Regions from separate parts of the Homo sapiens genome. Here regions 2, 3, 4 and 5 are each linked to region 1. The links are contacts of gene promoters, found by promoter capture Hi-C in blood cells and fetal thymus (Javierre and others, 2016). All regions are on one chromosome and are shown on one strand. Each heading gives the region's core, a stretch centred on a gene start or on the middle of the fragment in contact. The rest is flanking DNA. Distances are from core to core; before and after follow the strand shown.

Region 1 (2,700 bases), core at 21-2,520:
ATTCCAAGGACAGGCGAATAAGGTTATTTGAACATTTCTGAAACATTGACTTAGTTTGTGCTGGGTGTTGTACGATTCACAGAAGTAGAAAGGCTCTCTGCTCCCGGTGCTTTTCAGCCTGCGATTCAGGCGCCCACCTCTGTGCAAAGGGCTGTTTCCTTCCGATCTCCTGAAAGAGATCTGGATGTATCTTGGGTTCAACCTCGATTTTGACACGATTGCCATTTCCATCAAAGCCAATTTCCTTGCTGAAAGAAGTCCTATCCCTGGGTGAAATCCCAACAGCTTCATTTGTTTAAATTCTTTTATTGGCCTTGCTAATGCAGGGTGTGGTTTTTCCTCATCACGGAATATTGATAAGTAAACAACTACGGGGAACCTGCCCTAAGAAGGCGGCCCGTCGATCTCCTTGACTGCCCGGGACATGATCAGTGTTACTGCTGGGTGGAGAAGGTGTCGCCGAGCGGAAAGGCGCCGTCCTGCACCAGGTCGGGGGAGAGGCGCGGGGAGGTCGGGACCGCTGGGTTGGGCCGGGGCAGGGAATAGGCGCGAGGGGAGGCGGCGCGGGAACCTCGGGCAGCCCCAGCGGCTGGGTCGAGCCCGACAGGTTCCAGCAGCTCCCCTCACCCCTCTCCACGCCTCTCGGGTTTTCCCCTTGGCTCAGGGTTTCCTGTTTCAGTTCTCGGCGTTCTCCAGCAGCAGGTGCTGGTTTGCCAACCTCGGCTCCAGAGGCGGCGACGGAGGAGAAGGAAAAGAGGGAAGGGGAGGAGGAAGCGGCGCGGCTGCGGTGGCTGCGGGCGGGCGGGCGGGCGAGGAGCGCGGAGCGAGGTGGCGGAGCCGGGTTCGCTCTCGCCCGCGGAGCAGCGGCACGGACGAAGGGCAGGGCCGAGCCGAGCCCAGCGCTCGGGCGCGCCCGAGCCGGGGCCCTGGCGTGCGGCCAGCTGTCCGGGCGGGAGGCATGAGGGAGCCTCGCGCTCGCCCCGCGCCCTAGCGGCGGCCGCGGCAGCCCAGGGCTGAGGCGAGAGGCGGCCGCCTGCCGGAGGGCCCCGGGGCTGCCCCAGCTCCAGGGCATGTAGTGATGGCTGCGGAGAAGAGAATGCAAGTAGGTTGAGCAACAGATTCGAGTGCGCGCGCGTTGGGGCTGTGAGTTGTGCAACCCAGGGAGGGGGCGCCGGGGCTGCGGCCCGCGGAGAGGGCGCGCGGGCGGGCGCGGCTTGGCGCGGGAGGGCCGCGGTGGCCGCTTCTCCGCGGGCCCCGCCGCCCGCTCGCCGCTTTCTCGCGGGGCTGGCTATGCCGGGTGGCGGCTCCCAGGTTTGTCCTCGGGAAGGGGGTGGGGGACGCGGACCGCGGCGAGAGTGGTCCTGGGGTAGCCGGTCGTGGGGAGGGCCGCGGGGCCGCGCCCGGGCGCCAGGCGGAGGGCGCCGGGGCCGCAGCGACCTCGCCGTGTGATCTCCAGGCCCAGGCGGGTCGGGCTCCGGAGGTCGAGTCACCGAGCTCCGGTCGCTCAGGTGGGGCCGAGCGGAAAGCCCAGCGCATCCTCCCCTCGGGCAACGCCGTCCCCGCCGGGATTTCGGGCGAGGTGAGGCCGGGCTTCCCGGCCCCGCGGCCTAAGGCACCGGTCCCCGCCCGCCCGGGGGCATAGATCGCGAACATGGAGGCGGGCTCGGGCGCCGCGGATGGAAACGGACACACTGCGCTGCCCCAGCGGCTCAGACTCGCGCGCGCTCGTGGGGCGAGACATCTCTTGGCATCTCGGATCCAGCCCTGGCCATTCGCTTAACTATCCATCCCTCCATCCAGATCGCCAGCAACCCCAGGCCGAGCGTCACGAAAGCCCCTCACTCCCCCCTCGTCCCTCCTTCACCCCCAGGCTCCAGTCCAGATCCCTTTTACACGCTGCGTTCATTTTAGCTCGGCTGTTCACATTTTTAACTCCGTATTAAGAAGTGTTACAAATATAACTTGGAGAAATGAATCCCGCATTTCTTCCCTAAGCTGTCTCATTTCAAGTCCTTAAAAACAGCCCTAACATCCAAGTACTGATTACTCTGTCTGGGGTTCTTGCCATTTGGTTATCCGTTAACAATCTCGGTTTGTGTTCGGTGTTTTGTGATAAAGAGATGAAAGACGAATCCAGATTTAGGAAAAGTTTTCCTATTGGTTGACAAGACTGTATTGGAGTATCCCAGGCCCATCAGGCGCTTATTGATTCAGACTTTTTTTAAACCATTTTAGAATAGATGCAGAGATAATTGGAGCTAAGTATTGTATGTTTAGGAATTTGGCAACGTTGTTCAGTTTTTCACTTGTTACGTGCTTGAGTTTTTCCACTTTTAAAATGCATATTATAAACGGAAAACGAGATAAACCTCAAACACAATTTTTGACTTTTCAAGAACCACAAGAAGTCATAAATACAGTGTGTTATAAATGTTTTTGTCTTAATGGACTTAGGATTTAGAGGGTATGACTTCCATTCATTTAATCACATGTACAATTAATTTTAGTAGCAGTTTCTTAAGTTTAGGGTTCTCTGTGTTTGACTACATGATAGCTTCATCAAACATTGGTAAAATTAATCTTAGTGTGATAAGCCCAGGAAGATGCCTATTTCGGACTTGACCCCCTGTTCACCTGTTTTCTTCAACAATTTGGCATGCTTATTTCCAGTTACCTAAATCTGTCTACTGGATGGTACCA
Region 2 (2,710 bases), core at 131-2,630, 1.4 Mb before region 1:
GCCAGTAGGAACCCATTGGATTGTAGATTTTATGGAATATGTCTAATAATCATATCATTATAATTAAGACCATAATTATTTGGCATTTTACCATATACTGAACACTTTCTGCATAAGTTCTCATTTTTCCTTATGACAAGAAAGGTAGCTATTAAAATTTCGGAGGAGGAAAGGAAGGCTTTTAAGTGACTTGTCCAAGGTCACAGTGGTGAAGTTAGCAGTTAAACCTATTTGTGATGCTAAGTCACATTTTCTTTCTCTGCTGTCGTGCCTACCATTATTTGTGTGTAGTTTGCTTTCTGTAATTGGGTAATGTCAGTGTAATTGACAGTATTGTAAATAATTTTGGGCTACTCATTGTGTGCGCACACTTGGAGTATAAAATGAATGTTTGCCTTTAGACTTCGGCGTAAATGGAGACGAGAGGTACTGAGTGCCAGGTGCAAGCAAGGCCTTCTGGAATGCTGCCTTGTCACAATCCTTTTCTGTTTGACGAGATCGATGCAGTGAAGGACAACAAGATTTTCTTAGCAGTGGAGAAGTGCCACGAGTGATGAAGCAATAAGACATGTGCAGGAGAGAGCGCAGGTGTAGTGATCAGGCACAAAGGCAGTAAGAGATGGCTGGTTGACCTCCCACCATAGGGAAGAACCTTGTTTTGGCTAATTGTCTTGTTGGGTGTTCAGAAAGTTGACCTCCAGGGAGACAGTGTTAGATAAGAGCATGAACATACAATTAAAATGATTAAATTAAAATTTATTTTTGGAACACTTATTTCCTTAAATGTGAGAATGAAATCTCTAAGCATATGCTTTCTTTTCTTTTTCAGTTTAAACCTTTTTAGAAATGAGACTGGGTAGATTCCATTTTAGCTCAACAAATGTCCTTTTAAAGCTTTCTTAAAAGTAAACATAGGTCAGTTTTAATTAAGATTTGAATGATACCCATAGATTATTCATTGTACCTTAGAGTTGATTCCAGATCCTGTTTACATTGATTTAGTCCTACTTTTTTTTTTTTTTTTAGTAGCTTTTTCTTTTTTTAGTACTGTAAGAACTCACTGTTGGTGTTAAAACACAGATTAGCTAACTTTGAAGCTTATAAGTATACTCTTATAAAAAGATTCCAAGTTCCAAATCAAGATTCTCCTATGTGGGAGCTAGGATGTTTCTGCCTCTTGTCTCTTCACTTTTTCTCTTTCTCTCTTTTTCCCTCCTTTCAGCAGCAGTTACCTAACGGATGCCAGGGACTGTGTTAGGTACTTAGTGACTTTTAGGAACTTGGACTAAGTATTTGTAAAATAAGTACTGGAAAATGATTAACATCTATCAATTTTTTTATAACTTACCATGCACTTTGACTATCATATCTCACTTATTTAAATTCTTACCACAGCCTTGTGTAGTGTTGTTGTCATGTTACAAGTTCAGACACAGGCTTTGACAGGTTCACTTACTTCCTTGCCTAATGTTGCATAGTTAGTGAAGCGCTAGCACTGGAGTCTGTACTTAGGCCCCTCTGACTTGCCTCGGTATGATTGTGCTTGCTTTGATTCCCGTCATTTCTACATTTAGTGGTGGCTTTTAGTGTTCCATTTTCACTTCCCACTTACACTGCCATTCTGCCCCCAGATTCTTATTACCTCATTCTTGGCTCGGGGGGATAAGCTTCATAATTGGTTCTCGTTGTTCTTCTGAGTCATCTTCCTGTGAACCTTGGTCAAATTAGTATTTTTTTTCAAGTGGTTTACCTTCCATGCTACCCTTAAGTTCACCCTTGCAGTTGGGTTTTGTAAGCTAGCCCCTATCCTATTGTCCTGCGAGACCATTCTTCCCAGTTTCCACTTAAACAGTGAAGGATTCCTTCCTGGATTATTTTCTTCCCACTCCAGCATTTCACATCTTTCAAGATGCAGTGCTTATCTTGTCTCTTCTTTGAAGCCATCCCTTACTTCTTCAACCCACTGACCTCTGGATTCCAATGGTCTATTTTGCTAGTATTTTTTTCTTTTTCTTGACATTTCATAATGTAGCCACATGTCTCTTAATTTTTATCTCTTCCATACCTGGTGATTTGTGTTCAGGGGCCTTATGTAATGTTCAGTTGACTTAAACAGAAGGAAGAACTCTAAAGTCAAGACTACTGTACTCCGAATTTTTGCTACCATGAAGTGAAACAATGGTAGCATGATCTCAGATGTTGCCAGCTGAAATAGTTTGGTATATATGCTCATTTGTCTTATAGGTGTCTTTTCTGTTTTTTGGCATCCTGTGCTTAATTCTTTTTTTGTAATCTAAGCTTTGTTCCAATTCAAAAGGAGTTGTTATTGTGTAACATGAAGCTTAGATGCATATATTGAGTTGCTTTATGTATTTTTTTTCCTATTTGAGTTTGGTATGCAGATGACTTCCTGAGGATGTAAATTTTCAGTGGAAAGCTTAAAGCTGGTTTTGGCATGATGTTTATTCTGTAACATGCTGAATCATTATATCAAATATTGAGTCGTTTTCCTTTATCTCCTTCTTTTATACAATATTCAATATTTATAACATCTGCTAACTACTGAATTTTTAAATCTACTTTTGTGGTTGAAGTTTAAACAGCTACTTTTACAGGCCGTATTTATCTTTATTTTAAGGTAGTTACACAGGTAATGAAAGAAATGTGAAATAGGACAGGCTGTTCTTGAAGGTCATGTGAATTGCCCTTT
Region 3 (2,751 bases), core at 67-2,566, 1.4 Mb before region 1:
AGTTGTTCCCTCCCCTAACCTTCTGAAGTGTTTTGTTTATATCTTAGTTAATAAACACTTCTTGAACACTAGCCCTGTGCTAGGAATAAAGAATAAGGATTTCAGAGATGTCTAAGAGAACTTTGTCTCCTCTCTTAAGGAGAAGGGACTACGGTCTTTGTGCATGTGTGCGTGCGTGTGCCTCTTCTCCTGTACTATATTTCAGATTCCCAATGACTTAATAGGGAATGTAGTAGATCAATTCTAGATTTACAGCTTTTGCAATAACTTTCCATGATAAATATGTAGATGGGTTTCTCTCTAGCTTATGGGAAGTTAAGTGGTGATCTGATGCTGTTGTCTACTGAACCTTATTTTACCATGTAAAGAATGACTTCAGCCTTGGTGCGGTGGCTCACGCCTGTAATCCCAGCACTTTAAGAGGCTGAGGTAGGAGGATTGCTTGAGTCTAGAAGTTTAAGACCAGCTTGGGCAAGATGGCGACACCCTGTCTTTAAAAAAAAAAAAAAGACTTCAGTTTTTCAAGGACCGATTTTAGATTTTCAAAGCTTCCAGTCTCCTGGGAGCATTCCTCAAGGCAACTTGGAAGTGTATCCTGAGCAGTAGCCAACAACAAAACAATAAACTTCACATCTCCTAAAGAAGAGTTAGTTGGTTTTGGCATCTAGGTGCTAGGAAATGATTCTGAAAGTTCTATTTAAAGTTCTGTTTAAAGTTTCTACTCTTTAGAGTAGGAGATGGCATCAAAGGTGGCCTTGGCATAGTTGCCCAGGGTGGCAATGCAGCCTCTTGGTCGAGGTATAGCAATTGTCAATACCCACCATCAGCAGCAGCTTCTTGGGCATGGGGCTGAGATGATACCAGTGCCTCCTGAGGTGGGGATAAGTCTCACCAGCACAGAGAGGGTCTGTCACCCTGCAAGGGCTGGTGAGCTTGCCGATCTTGTTCCCCAAGTAGCCTCTTGGCACAAGGACAATGGAGAGCTTGGCCAGGATAATGGCTCCTCAAATGGCAGTGGCTACCTCCTTGGAGCACCTGATACCCGTATCAGTGTGGCCATTGTAGTCCCCAGTGGCAACATGCCTTGAATCCAGTGCGTTGGCCAGTGTGGGCCACTTTTGCGCCATGTAATCTTTGAAACCTCATTCTTGAGAGATGCCCCCAGGAAAATGTCAAGGACCTCAGACTCCTTGATGGGCAGGAGAAGAGATAGATCTCCTCCAGGGACTTGGTCTTCATGTCCTTCACCAAGCAGCACAGCTTTGTGACTGGCATCCACCCCTTGGCTTTGCCTCAGTGGCCTTGGTTGCAGGTGCTATTGCTGAAGCCTCCATCGAAGCCTCTGTGGTTTCCAATTCCTTGTCCCGTGGACCCTTCCGCTGCACCAGCATCATCTGCCATTTGATGTTTTCTTGGAGAAGCTGTTTTTACATCTTTACGAAAGAAAGGCCTAAGTCCAGCTATCTCTGATACTTGCCTGATATATTGTCCCAGAATCAGAACCTCCCTGGCAGTAGCAAATTGCATTTGAGAAAGTGAATGGCTAGTGATTGGGTAACAAGCAATTCACTTGGTTTCCCATTCTTTACTGTCAGCAAAATTGAAGAGAGACTTTAATGGGGTCTTTCTCTTTAATTGAGCGACTGGATCACCAAAAATTATTTGGAATAATCCATTATGACTTTTGGCCTATTTTATAGGAGCTCAGAATTAAACTTCCTTTGAGTTTGTTTTATTTATGTGAACAGATTTTAACCCCCATATTAGAGAAAATAAAATAATGCTGAACTCTTTTCAGTCTAGTAATCCATAGTATCCATTTATGGGTACAAAAAGAGAACCAGAACAATTAGCTCTATATAGTCCCACACATTGAGATATATTTACAATGTTTTTATTTATGTCTAACAGTTTTTTAAATCAAATCCCAACATATTTCTTGGTTTGATCAGTTCTGTATTACTAATTATTTTAATAATTGCTGAGTCTGAGAGGAAAGTTCAGTCAGCCTATGGCCACAGGAAATTAAAATAAGTTTTTTCTTTTGTAGAAAATGAGTTATGATAACATCAATAAAAGGCTTTCAAGCTTCAAACTTAAGATGCAATTCTGTGACGTTAGGAAATAGAAATGTGAATTAAAGGAGGGAAGGAAATTAAATTGCTTGTGATTAAATAAGAGTTTCTTTACTTTTTTTACTTGGTTGGAATTGGGTATCACATTGCTCTGCTGTTGAGACTCTGTGGGATACGTTGATAAGAGAAAAGCTTTATTGCTGCCATCTGCCATAAGCAAACTTATTCTTCTGTTGATGCCCCAGGTCCAGTATCTGTACCGAGTGTTTTGCCGGCTACGTCCTGGTGTTTCTATCCTTGCACTCCATGGTCGACAGCAGCAAATGAGAAGAATGGAAGTCTATAATGAGTTTGTCCGTAAGAGAGCTGCAGTACTCTTTGCTACTGATATTGCAGCCAGGGGTCTGGGTAAGAAAACTTCCTATCATGAAATTTCTGTGATTGTGTGAAATGTAATTTGCTTATAAAGTATATTTTGGGAAATCTGATAGACTCAAACACTTGGGTTTCTTTTCTTATTTTGTAAGAGAAAAGTAAGTAGTAAATTGGTAGCAGTTGACTAACATTAAGGATGTATCAGTGAAAATTTCCACAGTATTTGCATCTTTTTTACTATTTCATGATAATCACACCATAGAATCCTGAGGAACCTACAAAATCAAAGGGGGTTAAAAGT
Region 4 (2,700 bases), core at 119-2,618, 1.6 Mb before region 1:
AAGGAGGGTGGGACCGTTGCTGGCTTTAGATAAGAAATAAGATCGACTTTATATGGTTATTATGATGCTCCAGATAAAATAACCATTGTGAAAACCCTTCATAAGTTTTAAGATACTAAAATGTACTACCAGGCCGGGTCTGGTGGCTCAGGCCTGTAATCCTAACATTTTGGGAGGCCAAGGTGGGCAGATCACCTTAAGTCAGGGGTTTGAGACCAGCCTGGCCAATATGGTGAAACCCTGTCTCTAGTAAAAATACAAAAATAAACTGGGTGTGGTGGCGCACACTTGCAGTCACAGCTACTCGGAAGGCTGAGGCAGGAGAATAACTTGAACCCAGGAGGCAGAGGTTGCAGTGAACTGAGATCACGCCACTGCACTCAGCCTGGGCAACACAGCGAGATGCCTTCTCAAAAACAAACAACAACAAAAAACTAACCAAATAAAATGTACTATCAAACAACTGCTCAGGCAATGAAGTATTTTACTACACCCATGTGCCACTTGTAGATTCACAGATAAGTATTTTCCAAGCTTATTATATCCCTAATCAATAAAATTTTTTATCATAATAGATGATGTTTTCACTTATTTATTTTTACGCTTCGTGGAAAAAAGCCCACAAGACGTGTTTGGATTCTTGGTTTCACTTTTAAAGCAGCAAACAATCTTTACTTTGCTTGAATTGGAACCTGTATACGTCCTATTTTGTTTCCTCTACTAAATTTATTGAATAAACAAATGATTCGCGTGGCCTTTATAAGTTTCGTAATTTCGCTTTTCCTTTTTACCTGTGGTCCTTGATGCTAGGGGCAGGAGAAGAAAAACTAACCTATTCTTTAAAAACGCGTTTCCCTTTTCCATCTCTAAAAAAACTGAAAAGACGTAAAACAAATGGGAGGGGGCAAAGGAAAGAAATGAGGAAAAATCTAAGGAAGATTAATGTGTACTTCCCGGTCAGCGGGAAGGTGGACGGAGTAATATCTTTGCGGAGGATTGGGGTGTGGGGATCTGTGAAGGCGCAGTATGAGCAGTAAGGACTTGTCAACCAGCCCGACGCAACTTCACCGAGGGCGAGGAAAGGAGCTCTGAGGAAGGGGTTACTCCCGGGCAGGACTGTAAACCAGCTGGAGGCCTCGCTGGGAGGGCTTTAGAGGAATGAAACGTCCTTAAGAGGGGCGGATGGGGAATGGTATCAAGGGTATGGGTTCTTTAGGGCCTTGAAACAACGAAGGCTCAAACCAGTGGGCACAAAGGCTACCGGAACAGTAGTACGCGCTGAGAGAAGGGACACTATTCCCTTCACCTACCAATCGCTGCTGGCCCGGGCGCCGCTGGACTCCTAGGTAACGTCGCAGGCGGAAATGACGTAACTCAATCCGTTCTGTCCCGCCCCATTGCCCTCCTAGCCCCGCCTTCTAGGCCCCGCCTTTCCTCTATTCGCGCTCTGACAAAGTGCAGGGGATATAGACCAACCGCTTGTGAAGGCTGCTGGTTCTGTTAGAAGCCCGCTTTCGATTGTCAGTGGCTTTGAGGCAAAGGATTTTGGAAGGGAAAGCAAAGTGATTGTCTACGAAGTTGGGCTTAGTATATAATAAAGCCCAGTCATTTCAACCAAGAACCTTAAAGATGTTGAGAAATATAATGAAATATTTTCTATTAATTTTTGTAAAATTTTTCTTGAGATAGGGTCTCAATCTGTGGCCGAGGCTGGAGTGCAGTGGCGCGATCTCGGCTCACTGCAGCCTGGAACTCCCCTGGCTCAGGTGATTCTCCCACGTCAGCCTCCCGAGTAGCTGGGACCGTAGGAGTGCACCACCACGCCAGGCTCATTTTTCTATTTTTATTAATAGTGGCGACAGGGTTTCTCCATGTTGTCCAGGCTGGTCTTGAACTCCTGGGCTCCAGCGATCCCCCCCTACCCCATCTCCCGCCTTGGCCTCCCAAAGTGCTAGGATTACAGGCGTGAACCACCGCGCCCGGCCTATTTAATTAGTTTAATTTATTCATTTGAAAATGAGACAACTGATCCTTCTAGCTATTTGACAGGTCTTGCTCAAGGTCAAAGAATACGTGACTTGCAGTCCAATGTTATTTCTAAATGTAAGCTCTTCAGCTGGTTAAGCTAAACTGCTTTAAGTGAAAACAGACGACCTCTTGAATGAGTTTTCAAATGACCTTAAATAATGCAAGCACTGCTTATCTAAAGCAAGTCTGACTTGCTTGAATTCTGAGTCTGACACTTTGGCAGTGCTTTAGTTGGTCACAGATTATTGCAATGTGAAAAAATCTTGTTCAGAACTGCCCAGTTTTGCTATGTTCGTCCTATGTTCATGCATGGAATATAATTTGTTTGTAAGGAAGATAAACTTTTAAGGAGGGAAAAGAAACACCTGAAGAGAAATTTCCCTGTATAATGAAAACATTTGTACAGAAAAAATTCTTGGTAGGTTAATTCAGTGACTCACTGAACTTCCAGAGTTCTTTAAAATCATCACAATCATAAGCAAGGGGTGAGCTTCAGTTCCTCTTTATGTAGTTGCCTTGATGCATTAATACACAGTAGTTATGAACAATAAACTGTAAAAATATAGTCATGGAAACATTATGTATATCTTAATTTTCAATCTAATAGAAACTGGGTTAAAAAATTTAAATTCAGGCCAGGTGTGGTGGCTCACACCTGTAATCCCAGCACTT
Region 5 (2,700 bases), core at 39-2,538, 1.4 Mb after region 1:
TTTTTTCAACAGAGATGGAGTCTCCCTATGTTGCCCAGGTTGGTCTTGAACTCCTGGGCTCAAGGAACCTTCCTGCCTTGGCCTCTCAAAGTGCTAGGATTACAGGTGTGAACCACCACGCCCGGCCAAGACATTCTGACTTAATTGGTATAGAGTGCAACCTGCACATCAGGATTTTTAAAAGTTCCCCAAGCGATTCTAACGTGCAGCAAAAGTGGAAATCATTAAGATAGATACCGCCTTAGCTGTGAAGAAGATTTTAAGCTTATTTTACACTTTTGATTGCTTAATAATGCCTTAAGTTTAACAGATTATTAGGACAAATTTGCATCATTTATTCTCGTATTTTCTAGCCATTTGCTAGGGTAACTTTTGCAAAGATTATTTTTTAAAATTTATGTTACAAGGGACAAAGCTGAAAATTAGGGTAACTCCTTGTATACTGCTGAAATTTTGCTTCTGAACTAAAGGCAACAGATGCATTAACAAACACAAAATTTTTTTTCTTTTCAAATGGTCAGTTTGCATTTACAATAATAGAATGGTGCCAGGTGTTTTTATAATTCTTTCATTACTTCATCTTCCTGATGACAAACTGTTCCCTTGCACTTTGAGTTGGTGAAGTACATTAATGAGGTTTTGAACCCTCTCCTAGCATTATTTTCTGCAACAGGCCCAGGCAGGCCTTGAAAGTTATGAATAGAACAGTAGAATAACAATGTACTTAGATTTCAGGAAAGAACAATCAAATAAAAAGTAAACATCATGCAAGGTTTCCTTCCGTTACTTGTTTATGACTTGAAACACCTTATTTAAATCACCTCCTTTACATTAATGACAACTACACCTTCTGTTTTAATTAACACTCACTTAGTGACTATTTACTGACCACCTACTTCACAGACACTAAGTATTAGTGGGGCTGGGGGTAAAAACAAAATTCAACTTTCCTTTCAAGAGGCTTATCATCTAGAGAGGGAAACCAAATACATACACAAGTGACTACTTGGATGTAAAGTTTGGGAAATGAAATACTCAAAATTTACCCCAAGTTTCAAACACTTGTAACCAACAGATTAATGTTATCATTGAAAGAATGAAGTTCAGTGGAAGAGTCGGTATAAAACAAATGGTGATTCATTCAGATTGAGGTATACTGAGCTTTCAATGGCAATTAAATACCCAAGTAGTAATGTCCACTGACAAGATGTCAGAATTTAGCAGAAAGACCAACCTGGTCTGGCCTAAGCCAATCCCAGAGCTAAGTAGAAGAGAAAATTACTGCTGAAATTTGAACAACTCTCCCACTATCCTTGTGTCATGTCTAAAATTCTCATTATAAGACATTTGTTCCCTTGCTTAAAACCTTGTCTTTCAAGGATATCTTTTTGAAAATGTCCAGTGAACTATCCATAGTAGAGCAACAGGATGGTGTTCTGTTTGGGTGAGGGGATTATGTCTGGGCGAAGAACCACAGAAAACAAGAAATAAGAGGTTCTGGCCATTTGGAGTGAGGATGAAGAACAGAAAGGCAGTGAAGCAACATACACATATTTTATTTCCTATTATGCCTGTAACAGAGAATCAAATGGTATAAAACATGAATATGACTGACATGACCTTGTACAAGTAATAGTTTCTAGAATTGCATTCTTCATTTTAAAATTAGGAAATTCAACTTGATGGCTAAGGAATAGTCAAGCCCCAAAGTTCATCGATGAAGGTAAAACTCGAAAATCTGGTTCTACATTTGTCTTCTTGGTTTTTGCTAAACTTCACTTATAAAATGAAAATAGTTATGCTTATAAAAGTTTTAAAATAGACAAAGTAATTTTAAAATATCATCTGAATTGAATGTTAAATTTGCTGGACTTGTGATGTAATAACCAGTCTTATCATAACCCCATTTCATTTCTTTAGCTTCCCTCCCTAAACTACAAGTTATATCCGTAGTCTCACCCCTCCATTCACAAATACATGTTATTGCTAAAGAGGGGAAAGGTATAGATGTTTTAGCAAAAGTCCACTTCTGACAGAAAGTATTTTTTTAACAACAGCAAGCAAGTAGCACTATTTTATAAAATAATGAACTGATTCTGTAACCCACACATAAACTCAGTTCCATTATGGTCAAGCCACATAAAAGGAAGTTACATTAATTGCTGAAACAAAATTGCATTTCCCAAAACATTATCTAATAAAATTCTACAGCCATACAATGTTGATTTGAACTCAAAAGAAATTAATTTTAGTGCAGCCTAATCAAAATAAAATTCCTTTACCAATAATACTAAGCAAGTGTTTTATCCGCCACAAGCTTCTTCCTAATTTGTATTTTCTATCTGCATTACTGAGCATTCACAATGTAAGTGGCATTGTTTGAAAGACCACAAAAAATACATACATTTATATAACGTTTCAAGTTAGAAACCAAGATAACTCCTATTCAACATAGTACTGGAAGTCCTGGCCAGAGCTATCAGGCAAGAGAAAAAAATAAAAGGCATCTGAATTGGAAAAGTAGAAGTCAAATTATCTCTGTTCACTGACAATATGATTGTATACCTAGAAAACCCTAAAGACTCCTCTAGAAGACTCCTTGGCCTGATTAACAACTTCAGTAAAGTCTCAGGATACAAAATCAATGTACAAAAATCAGTAGCATTTCTATAAACAGTAACATTGAAGCTGAGAACCAAA

What was found. Contacts are between HindIII fragments. The CHiCAGO score rates a contact against its expected background, and 5 or more counts as called.
Region 2: a contact is called between a fragment that was not itself captured here and the fragment with the promoter of ZC3H12C in region 1, in 1 of 17 cell types (M2 macrophages). The highest score is 5.4, in M2 macrophages.
Region 3: a contact is called between a fragment that was not itself captured here and the fragment with the promoter of ZC3H12C in region 1, in 2 of 17 cell types (M0 macrophages and M2 macrophages). The highest score is 7.3, in M0 macrophages.
Region 4: a contact is called between the fragment with the promoter of C11orf65 here and the fragment with the promoter of ZC3H12C in region 1, in 1 of 17 cell types (monocytes). The highest score is 5.1, in monocytes.
Region 5: a contact is called between a fragment that was not itself captured here and the fragment with the promoter of ZC3H12C in region 1, in 1 of 17 cell types (total B cells). The highest score is 5.4, in total B cells.

Annotation. Positions count from the first base shown.
Region 1 is chr11:110,092,122-110,094,821 of GRCh38, forward strand. ZC3H12C (zinc finger CCCH-type containing 12C) reads left to right here and starts at 1,271. Exons shown (of 6, transcript NM_033390.2): 1 at 1,271-1,311. The coding sequence starts at 1,291. RefSeq lists silencers at 481-540, 841-1,100, 1,161-1,630. The HindIII fragment of the contact is 5,266 bases long and covers 1-2,700 here.
Region 2 is chr11:108,732,102-108,734,811 of GRCh38, forward strand. The region is part of intron 13 of DDX10 (DEAD-box helicase 10); the gene reads left to right. All of the region lies in intron 2 of LOC124902750 (a long non-coding RNA gene), which reads right to left. Among named protein-coding and RNA genes, the nearest start is that of DDX10, 68 kb to the left of the region's middle. RefSeq lists an enhancer at 1,671-1,790. The HindIII fragment of the contact is 570 bases long and covers 1,096-1,665 here.
Region 3 is chr11:108,689,556-108,692,306 of GRCh38, forward strand. DDX10 (DEAD-box helicase 10) reads left to right here. Exons shown (of 18, transcript NM_004398.4): 8 at 2,321-2,483. It also overlaps the pseudogene RPS2P39. Among named protein-coding and RNA genes, the nearest start is that of DDX10, 26 kb to the left of the region's middle. The HindIII fragment of the contact is 1,540 bases long and covers 547-2,086 here.
Region 4 is chr11:108,466,161-108,468,860 of GRCh38, forward strand. C11orf65 (chromosome 11 open reading frame 65) reads right to left here and starts at 1,369. Exons shown (of 9, transcript NM_152587.5): 1 at 1,311-1,369. RefSeq lists enhancers at 588-1,440, 1,381-1,525 and a cis regulatory region at 1,453. The HindIII fragment of the contact is 4,195 bases long and covers 533-2,700 here.
Region 5 is chr11:111,502,145-111,504,844 of GRCh38, forward strand. All of the region lies in intron 1 of BTG4 (BTG anti-proliferation factor 4), which reads right to left. Among named protein-coding and RNA genes, the nearest start is that of MIR34BHG, 7.1 kb to the right of the region's middle. The HindIII fragment of the contact is 2,053 bases long and covers 263-2,315 here.